Regions from separate parts of the Homo sapiens genome. Here region 1 is linked to region 2. Evidence: promoter capture Hi-C in 16 types of primary human blood cells and fetal thymus (Javierre and others, 2016). All regions are on one chromosome and are shown on one strand. The core of a region is centred on a gene start or on the middle of the fragment in contact, and the rest is flanking DNA. Distances in the headings are between cores, read along the strand shown.

Region 1 (7,312 bases), core at 2,101-4,600, 1.9 Mb before region 2:
GTAAAATCTACGAAAGAATTAGAAACAAGAGAAAAAATATTTTAAAAATTAAGACTTCAATAAAAGAGATAAAAGAGCAAAAAAAGTCTTTAAGTAGATAAAAAGGAGAACTTCAAAGAAAATGCTAAAAAGGATTTCAGAAGAAGTGGCAAATATTGAAAATAGCTGAAGAAGGTTCAAGATACAGAGAAAGTCAATATTTAAGGAAGAAAACCAAAGTAAGAGAACAATAAGAACAACAAAATACGATAAATGTTCATTATATAATAAACAAAATTCGTCCTAAAATAAAGGAAAAGATTTAACAAAACATATTAGAAGAGCAAATGGGAAGACTAATACCAGCACTTAATCTAGTAAAATTACTGGACTTTAAAGAAAAAGCCAAAAGATTCTTAAGGTATCTGAGTAAAAAGAATATGTAATTTATAAGGAAAATGCAATTTAGCATCAGACTGTTCAACAGTAATATTTTATGATAGAAAAAAATGGAGTAATATATTTAAGAGTCTCAAGGAAAAAAATTGGAAGCAAACAATTTTATATCCAGCAAAACTGACTCTCATCTAAAAAAGAAAGTGTTATTGACATGCAGTAACTCTTAACATGCAGTAACTCAATATATTTTAATGGGATTTTTTAAAGGAATCTACTAAAAAATGAGCTTCACACAACCATAATGACAATAGAGTCATCAAAAAACGACTGGTGGTTAGCATTGCTTGACTATGTAGTTACTTACAAAATTAAGAATGAATGAGGGAGAAAGGGACAGATTATGGGACATAATAACAATATATGTAACAATGGGGATACAGAATAAATGCTAAAAAGGATGGCATGGGCAAAAATAATCATTTTTATTAATCTAAATGAATCTTGTTAGCATGAGAATTGTTATTCTGGCTGTTCTACATTTATTGCATTTTAAAGCAAATTGGTCTACATGGAATGCTCTAGTTCTGTCATTTTCTTTGCCCTTAAAAACAACGACCCCTGGTGTGAAAAAAGAAGTTATCAATGCCATACAGAAAATGTTAAGTAGTAGAAAATGTTAATAGTATATCTACTGTTACTTCTGCATGTTATAGCGCTGACTTAAATTGGAAATTAGACTATGATTTCTTAAGTTATTTTCTAACTCTGTCCATTCCAATGACCTAGAAATGATGTGTAAATGGGATCCTTGGTATGCAAAATGTGAAATTTAAATTCTATTTATTGTTAAAAGACACCAAGAATTCTTGGAGAAATAGCTGATTTGAGTTGGAGACCTAGGCGGGAAATGGACAAGATGAAACTGGAACAACTTAGTATAGCAAACAATAAGGTAGCTATCAAAGATTATTAAGATCATCCCCAAAAAAAGAGACAACTTAGGAATCTTTATAAAGATGCATCTATTTCATCTTCCTAATTTTTTCCCTAATTATTCCTAATGACAAAAACCGCAATTACTTTTGCACCAACCTAATACTTTAATCGTATATTTTTTTCTGCTGTATGAACAAGGAGTTCCATGTTTTCATTTTTGTGCTAGCCTTGGAAACCACAACAACATATTGTTCCATTCCCCCCAAAAGTTTCATCACGTCCCTTTGCAGTTGATCTCCTCCTCTGTTCAACATCTGGCAAACATTGATTTGTTTTGCACCCATATGGTTTTGCCTTTTGCAGAAGGAATGAAATCACACAGTAGCTTTTTGAGCATAGCTTCTTTCACTCAGCATAATGCCTTTGAGATTGATAGACTACATATTGTTGCATTTATTAATAGTTCATTGCTTTCTATTGCTAAGCAGTCTTCCATCTTTTATCCATTCATCTGTTGGTGAATGATGATTTCTAGTTCTTGGTGATTATGAAAAACGTTGCTATACATGTGATTTCTTTTTCATTTTTTGATAAAAGATCAAACAAAACGGCCTGAGGATCTTAATCACTTACAGTGCTATATTATATACATTATATCCTGAAAAACATAAATGTCTATGTACAAAGGAAATATTATGTCGAAATATTGCCCCAAATATTACTGTCTTAAAAGTATATAGATTCTATTTTTCTATTTAATTTTGGGGATAAAAGATGGTAGGGTAAAATGAAGAAAAAAACTAAAGAACAAAATAAGAGTGAGATGAAGTACCTAATAAATATATACATCTATATTAATTTTACCCAAATAAGTATAAAATATGACATTTGTATGAATATGCTAATTTATTCAAGGGGCTGAAATATTATCACTTTCTAATTTTGTCTACTCTGTTCATTCTTCTACTGCGTATTTCTGTTTTGATTGAACTAATTATAGAATTATATATTACTGTTCTCAAAAAAATTGTTAGTGCCATGAGTACCAAGTCAGCAGCACCATAATTAAGAACTACTATTTGTTGGGTATGTAGTATGTGCTGCACAGCATACTTCGTGTTTTTCATTTATAGCATAGATCTGTAACAATACCTCATGGTAGGTTTTATTATCCCCATTTTATAAATGAAAAACTGAAGTATAATTAACTAAATCAATATAATTACTGCTGAGATCCAGTATTAAAATCCAGCCCCGTCTTTTTCCATGGCTAGCAAGTAGAAGTGTTGGATGTGAAACAAGAGTTATACAATATACTTAGATATGTAAGTAATTTAGCTTTTCCTTACAGTAATTTTTCGATATAAAAGCCAAAGAAATTTCCTTACTTTTTTTTTTCCAAGTTTATACTTCAACTCTCTTTGAAATCTAGAATAAAAAACAGACACACTGCCCTTTTTCTGTTTCACTGATATGATTTACAATTTATAGTAAGTGACTGGACACTAGGCTTACACAAAATTGTTTCCAAGTAAGGAACAATGTGACAAAGGTGTTACAAGCTCTGGCTCTCCTGGATTATGCTCAAATCCCACCTCTGGGCTTGTTAGTTGCACAACCTTGAACATTTTGTTTGAATCTTCAGTACTTCAGTGTGCCCTCAGGAAAATAAAAATAATGTTAATAAAACTAGCTCCTAGGCTTGTTGCGAGAATTAAATTAAATTATGTGAACAAAGCTTGTGGAAAAATGATATCCCATAGCAAAAATTCAATAAATGCTTAGTTATTATTCACACATGAGAATATACTAAGTATACTATCACTGTTTTAGATTTTTCTTCCATCAGATTTACTACATGAAAGTAAAATACGTAAAATCAATGCTAACTAATGTGCACAAATAATTATCTGAATGTACTATAAACAAAGACTTTGAAAACTGCAAGTCCTATCTACTTAACGAACACCTGGGTTGAGTGAACTAAATGGCCTCTATCAGAGACATCGATGACTTGCACTGAACTTTGATCTTGTCACTAAATGTCATTCATCACTGGCAATATTTCACACACCATTTGGATTTGCTTGACAAGCTATCTATCCTCATGGAAATCTACATCTTGCTCCTTTAGCTGCTCTCAGAGTAAGAGTGCTGTTACTTAACATATTATCATTCTTTCAAAACCTTGTATTCCTGGAGGTTATAAAAATAGGTAGGTGTCTGATTTAAAATTGAAAACGAAATGTGGAGCTGTTCTTACTTCCAGGCATAAAAATTACGATAGGCAATTTCCATTATTATTTGAACATAAAATTTCATTTCTTAAGGCTTTAAGCTTTTTTAAAAAAGTTTATTGCTGAATTTATTACTTTAGAGATAGAATTGCCCATTTTCTTTGTATTTGTCATCAAATACTATTAAGTAGTTAATTTTGTCAGAAAAGGTACCAGACATTGTTCAGCATAAATAAGGAGACTCAGCCTGAGCTCTTCATTAATTTCTTATTTAATTCTGTCAGCTCTCAGGTACTCAGATAGCACAAATTTCAAAACAGAAACTTTGGCATATAGGATTTAGCCATTATACTTCATTTTGTGTTTTGTGGTTAGTTTCATTTTAATGAGGTAGGCAAAGACGTTTCAGTGGATTTTTACAGAGAAAACTTGCACTTTGTACTTAAGAACACACAATTCAATCTATGTCTTTTTCTTGCCTTAAGCTCCATTTTAAAAACATCTCTGAGTTTGCTTGTGAATTGCACATAAATGTAAATTCAGTGCAGGTTTTTAAAGTTATGTTTCTCTTGAGTCCTAAAAACATATTTCACCTTAATTTTAACATTTTGGGTATTTTTAATCTCAAGATTTTATGCCCTTTGCAATTTGCATACTTTTAAGAATTTACTTCCCTACATCCCCACTTTAAACTTACTTAACACACATTTGCAAAGGGGTGGTTGCAAATGCCAAATGCACTCTATACTTGGAGTGTGTTTGTGTGTGTATGTGTGTGTATGTGTGTGTGAGAGAGAGAGAGAAAGAGAGAGAGAGAGAGAGAGATTTCCCTATCTTTGAAATTTTCTCAACATCTTCTTGCTCCTAAAATGTGGGCTAGGGGCTGGGTGCAGTGGCTCATGGCTGTAATCCCAACACTTTGCGAGGCTGAGGTGGGAGGATTGCTTGAGGCCAGGAGTTTAAGACCAGCCTGGGCAACACAGAACCTGTAAAAGTCAAAAAAAAATAAAAGAGAGAGAGAGAGAAAAGAAAAAGATAATGTGCTGTATAGGATGACCTGCCCAAGCTGTCTCTTGCCTAGTAGGCTGCTTATATCTTTAGCTGATTGTTCCAGGTGCTTATATACTGTCCCTCACTACATTACATTATTCTATGAAAGAATAAGTTAGATAGACCTCCGTCTTTGATTAAGACAATAAATACCTTCTTCCAAGGCTTCATTGGTAGAGCAGCAGCATCTTGTTCTTCTATTGTCAGGGTCATAATTATGATTTTTACTCACTTCCCTTGAAAGTTTCCTATTTTTGTGTCCCTTTCCCTTAAAAACACATCATCATTGTGTTTGTTTATATTTTAATAACAAGGGAAGGTCTCTGAAATAATGACTATTAGCATCTGTTCACAACAATATTTGTGCCAGATATTTGTTTTTAAAAAATGGAGCAAATGTATTAGGTAATATTTGTAGAGACACACTATACATCAAGGACTATCGTTAGGTGGTTCTTTTGATTCAGAGCCCTCTGTGCCTCGCCAAACAGGAGGAATTCTTTAATAGAACTTTTGTGAGCAATTGGTGATCACCTTCCAAATGTAATCTGATTCAGAATATAATAGTTATTCTGTTTAATTATCAGATTGTAACCATGGAAGACACATCTAAACTCAAAAAAGAGAAACGTCTGTGAGATCTGAGAATTACCTGTGTTCATTATGAAGAAGTAAATAAAATACAATGATTAAGAAAACATATACAACTTTCCCTACTACAGAGCAACTTCATGTATGTATTTGATTTCAGTACATAGTTCTCATTTGTCATTTTGTTTCTAGCTGCCTCAGTTAGGGTGGAAACTTGACTGTATAACTTTCCAAGGTAGTAGAGCTAAACATGGGGATTTAGGACTGTTTTGGGGGCAGGAAAGGAGAGTTCTGGTTCTCGAGTTTCCCTCTGGCACACTTAATGATATCCAGTGCAGGTATATACCTCAATAAAACCAGAGCCAGAGAAAATAAATGTAGACACGTTGTTCTTGAATCATACTAATTTTCTGTAGATGTCTCTAGGAAAATTTAAAATGGGTGAAATGGAAATCCCTGTATATCCAGACTATGCTTCCTCATGGCCTCATTTAAACGATAACCTGGCCAGTAGCTTCTTTCTGATGCCTTTCCTGAATAGTGACAGCAGACGAAGTTATTCAAATGCCTATTGAAGAGTTCTGGAGTATGCAGGAAAGCGCTGCTGTGGAATAATGCCTAGAAGGCAGGGTAAATTTCCACTTAAGGTCTTTTCCATAGCAAGTATTATTTTTAAGGCAGTGGAATTATTTGATCCTTTGAGGGAATAGAGTTTGCAGCTAGCTGAAGTGAGTAGATGAGTCCTCAGAGTTGGCATTTGTGGGCTGTTGTACTATTTTTTTTATTTTACTTTAGGTTTGGGATACATGTGCAGAACACGCAGGCTTGTTACATAGGTATACATGTGCCATGGTGGTTTGCTGCGCCTATCAACCTGTCATCTAGGTTTTTAGCCCTATAGGTATTAGGTATTTGTCCTAATGCTCTCTCTCCCCTTGCCCCCAACACCCGACAGGCCCAAGTGTGTGATGTTCCCCTCCCTGCGTCCATGTGTTCTGTATGTTTACTGCAGCGCTATTCACAATAGCAAAGACATGGAACCAACCCAAATGCCCATCGACGATAGACTGGATAAGAAAATGTGGCACATGTACACCATGGAATACTATGCAGACATAAAAAAGAATGAGTTCATGTCCTTTGCAGGTACCTGCATGAATCTGGAAGCCATCATTCTCAGCAAACTAACACAGGAACAGAAAACCAAACGCCACATGTTCTCACTCATAAGTGGGAGTCGAACAATGAGAACACATGTTGTACTATTTTAACTTCAGTAGCTTCAGCAGTTGGCATCTCACGGATGCCTACCACTCCAGGGATTTAAAATGAATGCTTATGTCACAATCTCTACCATGTTCTTAGCTTCTCTTTCTATTGTCCCAGTACTAGTTGTCTTCACTTGGTGGGTGCAAAAGTCTGAGCCCACATAAACTGACTATGGACATCTAGTTGCTTTTTTGTCAGCAGTAAACAGTTGTTTCAAACTCTTGTGTTTTTCAAGAATATAAACACTTTGTTAGATGATTCAGAGGTTGTGTCATGAATTGGCGCTGATTATTTTACTTGTCTACAAGGGGGTCTCTGCCTATTCCCTCAATGTGATACATGCTCTTCGTTAGAATGCATGTTTTTAAAGTAAAACACCCTCCCTGTCTTATAACTCATGAACGCTAGATGTCAGTATTGCTCTTTTTCTTCCAAACCAATGCCCTTAGTGAATGATGTCATAGCCTGCTCGGTCTTTCAGCAACGTTGTACACACAGAAAATTGTTCAGCTCAGAGTCTTTTACTGAAATAGTCGGAACCATATACTCTCTGGCTTTCTATGATATGGTTCACGTTGTTTTAAGGAAACATTATCATTTCTCTTCTGCAAAGAGCAGTATTTTTATGAAAAAATTAAAGGTAGAATCAAAATAATAGAAAAAAAATTATATTTGTCAAGGCCTTTTTAATAATAATGGTTTTATAAAATGCAGCTGCCACTAATCACTTTTGGATATAGCTAAATTGCAAACATCTCTGAGATCTTGATGGATGAATAGCAGAAGATATAATACAAGTAATAGCATTCAAGAAGGCAAACTATCAAATATTTTCAAAACTATATATAATT
Region 2 (7,079 bases), core at 2,691-5,190:
AACAGACTAAGAAAACAATCTTATTTAAAATTGTATCACGAAAAAATAAAATACTTAGGAGTAAATTTAACCAAGCAGGTAAAATATCTGTACATTAAAAACTACAAAACATTGATGAAAAACTGAAGACAACACAAATAAGTGAAAATATATTTTATATTCATGGACTGAAGGATTAATACTGTTAAAGTAGCCATACCACTCAAGGCAATCTACAAACTTAATACAATTCCTATCAAAATTCTGATGTGATTTTTCACAGAAAAAGGCAAAACAATTTTAAAATTTGCATGGAATCAGAAGAGACCCCAGATAGCCAAAGAAATCTTGAGCAAAAAAAAGAGCAAAGCTGGAGGCATCACACTATCTTATATCAAAATGTATTATGAATCAATCATAATCAAAACAGCATGGAAGTGGAATTAAAACAGACACACTGACCAATGGAACCAATTAGAAAGCCCAGAAGTAAGCCCAAGTATTTATGATCAATTGATTTTTTGGCAAAGGTGTCAAGAACACACAATGATAAAAAGACAGTCTATTCAATAAATGTTGTTGGGAAAAATAGGATATCCACATGCAGAAGAATAAAATTGGACTATTAACTTACACCCTACAGAAAAATTAACTGAAAATGGATTAAAGACTTAACGTAAGACCTGAAACTGTTTAAAACTGCTAGAAGAAAACATAGGGGGAAGTCCATGTCATTGACTTCAGCAATTATTTCTTGGATAGGACCCCAAAAGCATGGAAAAGAAAATCAAAATTAGACAAATAGGATGGCATCAAACCAAAATGCTTCTGCACAGCAAAGAAAACAATCAAGAGTTACAAAACAATCCGTGTACCGGGAGAAAATATTTGCAAACCACACATCTGTTAAGGTGCTAATATGAAAAATATCTAAGAGACTCAAACAACTCAATAACAAGAAAACAAGCAACCTGATTTAAAAATGGGCCAAGGACCCAAAGAGAGAGTCCTCAAAATAAAACATGCTATTAGACAAAGGATATGTTTAAAAATGTTCGGCATCTTTAATCATGAGGGATATGAAAATTAAAGCTGCAATGAGATATCACCTCCCACATGTTAGAATGGCAATTATCAAGAAGACAAAAGATAAGTGTTGGTGAGGTTGTGCAGAAAAAGGATACCTGGTGTTCTGTTCATGGGAATGTAAATTAGTATAGCCATTTTTAAAAACAGTATGGAGATTCCTCAAAAAACAAAACATGGAATTACCATATGATCCACAATCTCACTTCTGGATATATATCCGTAAAGATTGAGATCAGTATATCAAGGAAATGTCTGCACTCCCATGTTCATTCTGGCATTGTCTACAAAAGCAAAGATATGGCAACAACCTAAGTATCCATCAATGGATAAATGGATACAGAAAATGTAGTATACATAAAATAGAATAATATACATGCTTTAAAAAGAAGGAAATTCTGCCATGTGCAACAATATGGATGAAACTAGAGGACATTGTGGTAAGTCACATTTCAAACGCTAATTCATCTGTGAAGCATTCTTCATTTACTTGCTCCCTAAGTAACTTGCCTCTTGAGGAATTGTTCAAAATATTTTTTGCAACTTGCTTATGGCTCTTACCATTTATCATCTTGTATTCTGTTAATTTTTAAAACCTACTAAACTGTAAATCCCTTTGAATCAAGAAACATGCCTTTTCATTTTCTTCTTAAGTTGCTTTGTTTCATTCCTTGAGTATCTATGTAACATTGAGATTGAGGTTACAGGTTCTGTCATTGGACTGCCTAGGTTCAAATTTCACTCTCCTACTTCAAGAGTGAGATTTTAGGCAACATTCTTGACTACAGAGTAATTCCATTTCCTCTCTACTATCTATCTATGCTGTGGATAAAATATGGGCAATAACAGTACCAAGCTCATAGAGTTGTTGTAAGAATTAATTTATACAAGTATATTGACTTGAAACAATGTTTAGAATAGAGGAAAATCCTTATTATTGATAACATTTATTACTGTACAGGTTGTAGATAATCAAATGATATTTAAGTATGAGTAAATAAGTTACAACCAAACATTTTAAAATTTTCATCAGGGAAATTTTCATAAACATAAAATAGAATTATATTAAATAATTAACTACCATCTTTCCCAATAGTTTTCAAGATTTTGCCACACTGGTATCAAAAGGTGTCTCATGACCCTCTTTTCTATGGAATATTATAAGCCAAATACCAGATATCATAATTTCCCTTAAGGACATGTTTTTTAAAAGCTAAATCACAAAATAATGATGAATAAAATTATACATTAAGTACCTATTATCTGGGAGAAAATTAGGGAATATTATCAAATCTCTTTTCTCTGAATTATCTAATAATCTTAGGGAAAGGATTTTGGTCTCAAATATTTTGACAAATTTTGTTCATATTCACATATTTAGTCTCTAATAAAAGCCATAAGACCTGCAACTTACTAAAATAATCATAAAAAATCATTGTAGTTGAAAACTCTTCTATTGTTTCTAATTAAAAAACAATTTTAGTTGAAAATTCTTCTTTTGTTTCTAATTCTGAATCCTATAGTTTTAATAAGTATATCTATTATTTTATAATTGCTATATGCTGTCTACATATAGCAATTATACAATATAAATTATACAATTATAGCAATTATACAATATAAATTATACAATTTTATAATTGCTATATGCTGTCTACATAGCAAAAACACAAGACCCTGATTCATACACAGACACATACACATACATAGTAGGACCTACTAGATTTTAATGTTTTTGAGCCAAGCAGCATGGTTCCATATATCTCTCATAGTACCAGGTATACTGGTAAGGTAATCAGATAATATTATAAATTGAATGCTGAAGAATATATATATATAGTTGCTCATTATATATATATATATTTGTGTTTGTGTGTGTGTGTGTGTGTGTATTACATAAATACATACTGCTTCATGGCTTTTACTCATATTTTAACATCAGAATTATTTTGGGTAGTTCTAGACCTATGGATGCTGATCAGTTGACACTTGTCTTGTTAGTATTTGGTTCTTTCAATAAAGGATTATTTGCTCCTAATTCTTATTCAAAGTATTTTAAAATTTTTATAAATGAACACTATATTGTTCAATAAATAGCAAGTAGCAGTAAAATAATATAATACAGATTCATTTTGTTATTTTTGGAATCATATATGAATGTATCTAGATAGTTTCCAACACTATATTGAACTTTACAGGTTTTTCTAAAATTTATTTCCTTAAAATGCAATAGTTAATATTAAAATTACATATATATAAATATAGGAAAATTAAGTGCAAAAATGATGGTGAATATATTTCTCCAAAGACTTTTATTGGTGGATAATGAATTCTTTTCTAAATATATTTAAAATAATTTTTTTTTAATTTGTGTATTTTTAGTAGAGACGGGGTTTCGCCATGTTGGGCAGCCTGGTCTCGAATTCCTGACCTCAAGTGATCTGCCTGCCTTAGCCTCCCAAAGTGCTGGGATTAGAGGCATGAGCCACCAGGCCCAGCCCCTAAATACATTATTTTTTAATATAAGAGCAGATAAACAGTAGTTGAAATATTCTTTTAAAATTGTATGGATACACATAGAACCTAGCAATTTAAGATAGGAAACTAGGGCTGGAGCACCTGAAAGAGTTTCCATGTTAACAACAATTAAGCAGAAAATAAATGATTAACTTTATGGGTAATCAACTTAGCTTTCCATAAGTCATCAGCTTTTTCAAAAGATTACATTTCTTTCATTAGTTGGCTACTTTATGTGTCTTAAATCAACATACAACTGGGGATTAGGTTAATGGTTCTACTTATTTTGTGCAATAATTCTGCCTACTCACCTATGACTGATAACTAAGTATAAATACAGTATCTCAAGTCATGCTGTATCCAGATTTGCTTTTACATTTTCTTGCCTGAGTCTGAGGTGAACAGTGAACATATTTACATTTGATTTAACAGTGAACCTTAATTCTTTCTGGCTTCACAGTGAAACAAGTTTATGCAATCGATCAAATATTTTCATCCCTGAGGTTAACAATTACCATCAAAATGTTTTGTGGAGACTATGTGAGTATAATGCTTATTTCTGTAAAGCTTTTCACTCTTTTGAAACTTGATTTATAAAATTTCATTTGTGTTTTTTGACGTTTTTAACAGAAAATGTTGTTCTAATTTGTTTTTATTCTTACTACTTTCTTACTATTTTATGCCCATTTTTTGAAAGAAACATTTATAGAATATTTAAATTTTATTTCTGGGATTATTAAACATTACTATGATAACAAGATTTTTTTAATGCAATTATTTGCTATGCTTCTGAAGCAAATAAAGAAAACTGAAGATTAAAGATTTGGATTTGAGCATACCTAAGAATCCATTTAATTAGTGGGTCTTCAATATAACTATTAAACAGAGTTAATATTATGAAATCTTAAATCCATGCTAATTTTGAAACAACGTATTATCCCACAGAGGCAAGTTACTTTCATATGTAATTTGATTCAGAATTCTAACTGAAGTTATCATAAGATTTTTTATCTCGATATTTACTTCTATCTATAAAAAATTAAAATAATTTTGACTATTAATTTTATTTTAAATCCATGCTTTCTGTAAAAGATAGCTTATTTTTGAATAATTTTCTGTTGAATAGAAGCAATGTATAACAAGATTTAGTCTTTTTTTTGGCCTTGTCTGAATCATTTTAGTCCAACTGCTCTAATAGTCATTCACTTTTTAAAAAGCCAACATGAACATTAAGTTGTCTGAATATGCTTTATATGAAAAGGTCTCCATTTCACATGGTCTTGAAAATTATATACAAATGTGAATTTATGCCTTGTGGTCTTAGAAATTATATACAAGTATATGTGTGTTAATGATGATTCTTTACAAATCTATACTATAAAAAAACTTTCAGGAGACTGAGGCAAGAGAATGGCGTGAACCCGGGAGGCGGAGCTTGCAGTGAGCCGAGATCGCGCCACTGCACTCCAGCCTGGGCGACAGAGCGAGACTCCATCTCAAAAAACAAAAAACAACTTTCTGGGAACTTTTATGCAAAAAAATTATAACATAATTATTTTGTTAAACTTTGGCACACAAAACATTGTTTACTCATACAAAGTAATCAATGCAGGAAAATTTTACTTATATATTGTGTTTCTTAAGATAAATACTGAATTAGGACTTAAAAGGCAGCTATTTTCCATCACTGTTAGTTTAACAATCTTAATTTCATCTTAAGATTTCAAGATCTCATTTTGCAGTTGAAAGTTACCATTATTGTTTTATTAATTGTAAGGTGGTTATATTTCACTACAGAGAAAAAAAGGTATCAAGTAATTAGGCCAGCATGGTAAATGATTAAATTTGCAAATGCCTATTGTTTTCTCTCTCTGTTCATTTGAGTATAGTTATTTGGGAGTAATTACTATTATATTCTATGCATTGTGTGGTCTAATGTTACTATTTATATGCCCATTTTTCAAAAGAAACATATTTTATAGAATATTTAAATTATATTTCTGGGATTATTAAACATTACCAGGCTAACAAGATTTTTTTTAAATGCAATTATTTGCTATGCTTCTGAAGCAAATAAAGAAAACTGAAGATTAAAGATTTGGATTTGAGCATACCTAAGAATCCATTTTAAGTACTTTTGATTAGCTATTTTAGAGATGAATGTTATGTTTTATGTATAATCTCAGCAAGCCTGGATGGTAAAATGGTTTTACATAATCAATATCAGTATAGTTTAAAGTAATTTTCTATCTTAAGGTATATGACCCCAGTGGTCAGAATTTAGTGCTAAAAAGGCCAATATTTGAGGCCAAGCTTATCTCTTTAATCGGATGTTCTCAAGCAAGAGACTGGCTCTTCTGTTGACAAGTAATTTCTTATTTTATAATGTGGGTAGTAATTGACTGAGTTGTTTGTTAAAGATATGTCCCTAGATCCTCCTTATTTAGCAGTCCTGATGCAGTATATATAACATCTGAACTTATACACTTGATATAAAAGGGTTACCATTTTTGAGAACCACAGAGATAGGTAGTTCATTACTCTCAAAGTATAGAAAATTTAAATATACTTCAAGCAAGAGACAAGAATCATGGAAAAATGGTTACATTTCTGTAGGAGATAAACATACATAATATGTTAAAATTATTTTCTATATTTCTGGAGTTAGGCGGGCCCCAGTGATTAAGGTAGTTTAAGTGTGCTTGTTACATTAAGAAGGAAATTTATCTTTGGTGCACTAGTGTATTTTACTTATGTGCTTGACTGTAAGACCATCTTTCAAAAGCAAGGTTTAATTAAGAGATTATTGCAAGCCTGAGTTTTGATATATTAGTCAGATATAAATCACATCATAGGAAGATATTATTATAATATTATAATAGCTCTCTTAGAATGGAGGAAATTTTACTATACAGTGTACTTGCCCAAGTCAGGATCTAAACCCAGGTATCTCTACATCCCTAGAGCTCAAATTCTTTTTATTAATATATAATGTCTCTTTAGAATACACCTGCCTCTTTAGAATACAATTTTCTTGTAAAAATTGTTCGCTGATTTTGTCCTGTTTTGTCATCAGCTGATCCCCCTTGTTCATACAGTAGCATCTTATTTACTATAGATTCATTTCTTAGATGATACCCTTCCTTTTGACCTCTAATAGGATTAGAGTTAACTTTAATCCTATTCCCTTTTCTACCCTTTTGACACCTTTTCCTACTTCTATAATATTTATTGACTGACAGAAAATGTTAATCATAGCAGTATGAAAAGTAGGATACATGTTGATATCATATTTCTTACCTAAAATAGCATTATGTATTATACAAACATATAGAAATTATTATAATAATTTACTGTCTATATACATCATCCATACCTTGTTTAATTTAATCTTCACAGCAAATTGTCCTATAAGAATACCATTTAACATGCAAAGGTTTGAAGTTCTTTTGGAGGTACTAGATATTCTACCCAAATGTTTTATACATATTATTTTT

Evidence for each region. Contacts are between HindIII fragments. The CHiCAGO score rates a contact against its expected background, and 5 or more counts as called.
Region 1: a contact is called between a fragment that was not itself captured here and the fragment with the promoter of ANXA10 in region 2, in 1 of 17 cell types (M0 macrophages). The highest score is 5.1, in M0 macrophages.

The regions. Positions count from the first base shown.
Region 1 is chr4:166,159,147-166,166,458 of GRCh38, forward strand. No RefSeq gene overlaps it. Among named protein-coding and RNA genes, the nearest start is that of TLL1, 290 kb to the left of the region's middle. RefSeq lists an enhancer at 6,691-6,985. The HindIII fragment of the contact is 600 bases long and covers 3,051-3,650 here.
Region 2 is chr4:168,088,597-168,095,675 of GRCh38, forward strand. It overlaps ANXA10 (annexin A10), which reads left to right and starts at 3,941. Exons shown (of 12, transcript NM_007193.5): 1 at 3,941-4,122. The coding sequence starts at 4,105. LOC124900170 (a long non-coding RNA gene) reads left to right here and starts at 4,141. Exons shown (of 2, transcript XR_007058357.1): 1 at 4,141-7,079. The HindIII fragment of the contact is 6,758 bases long and covers 1-4,147 here.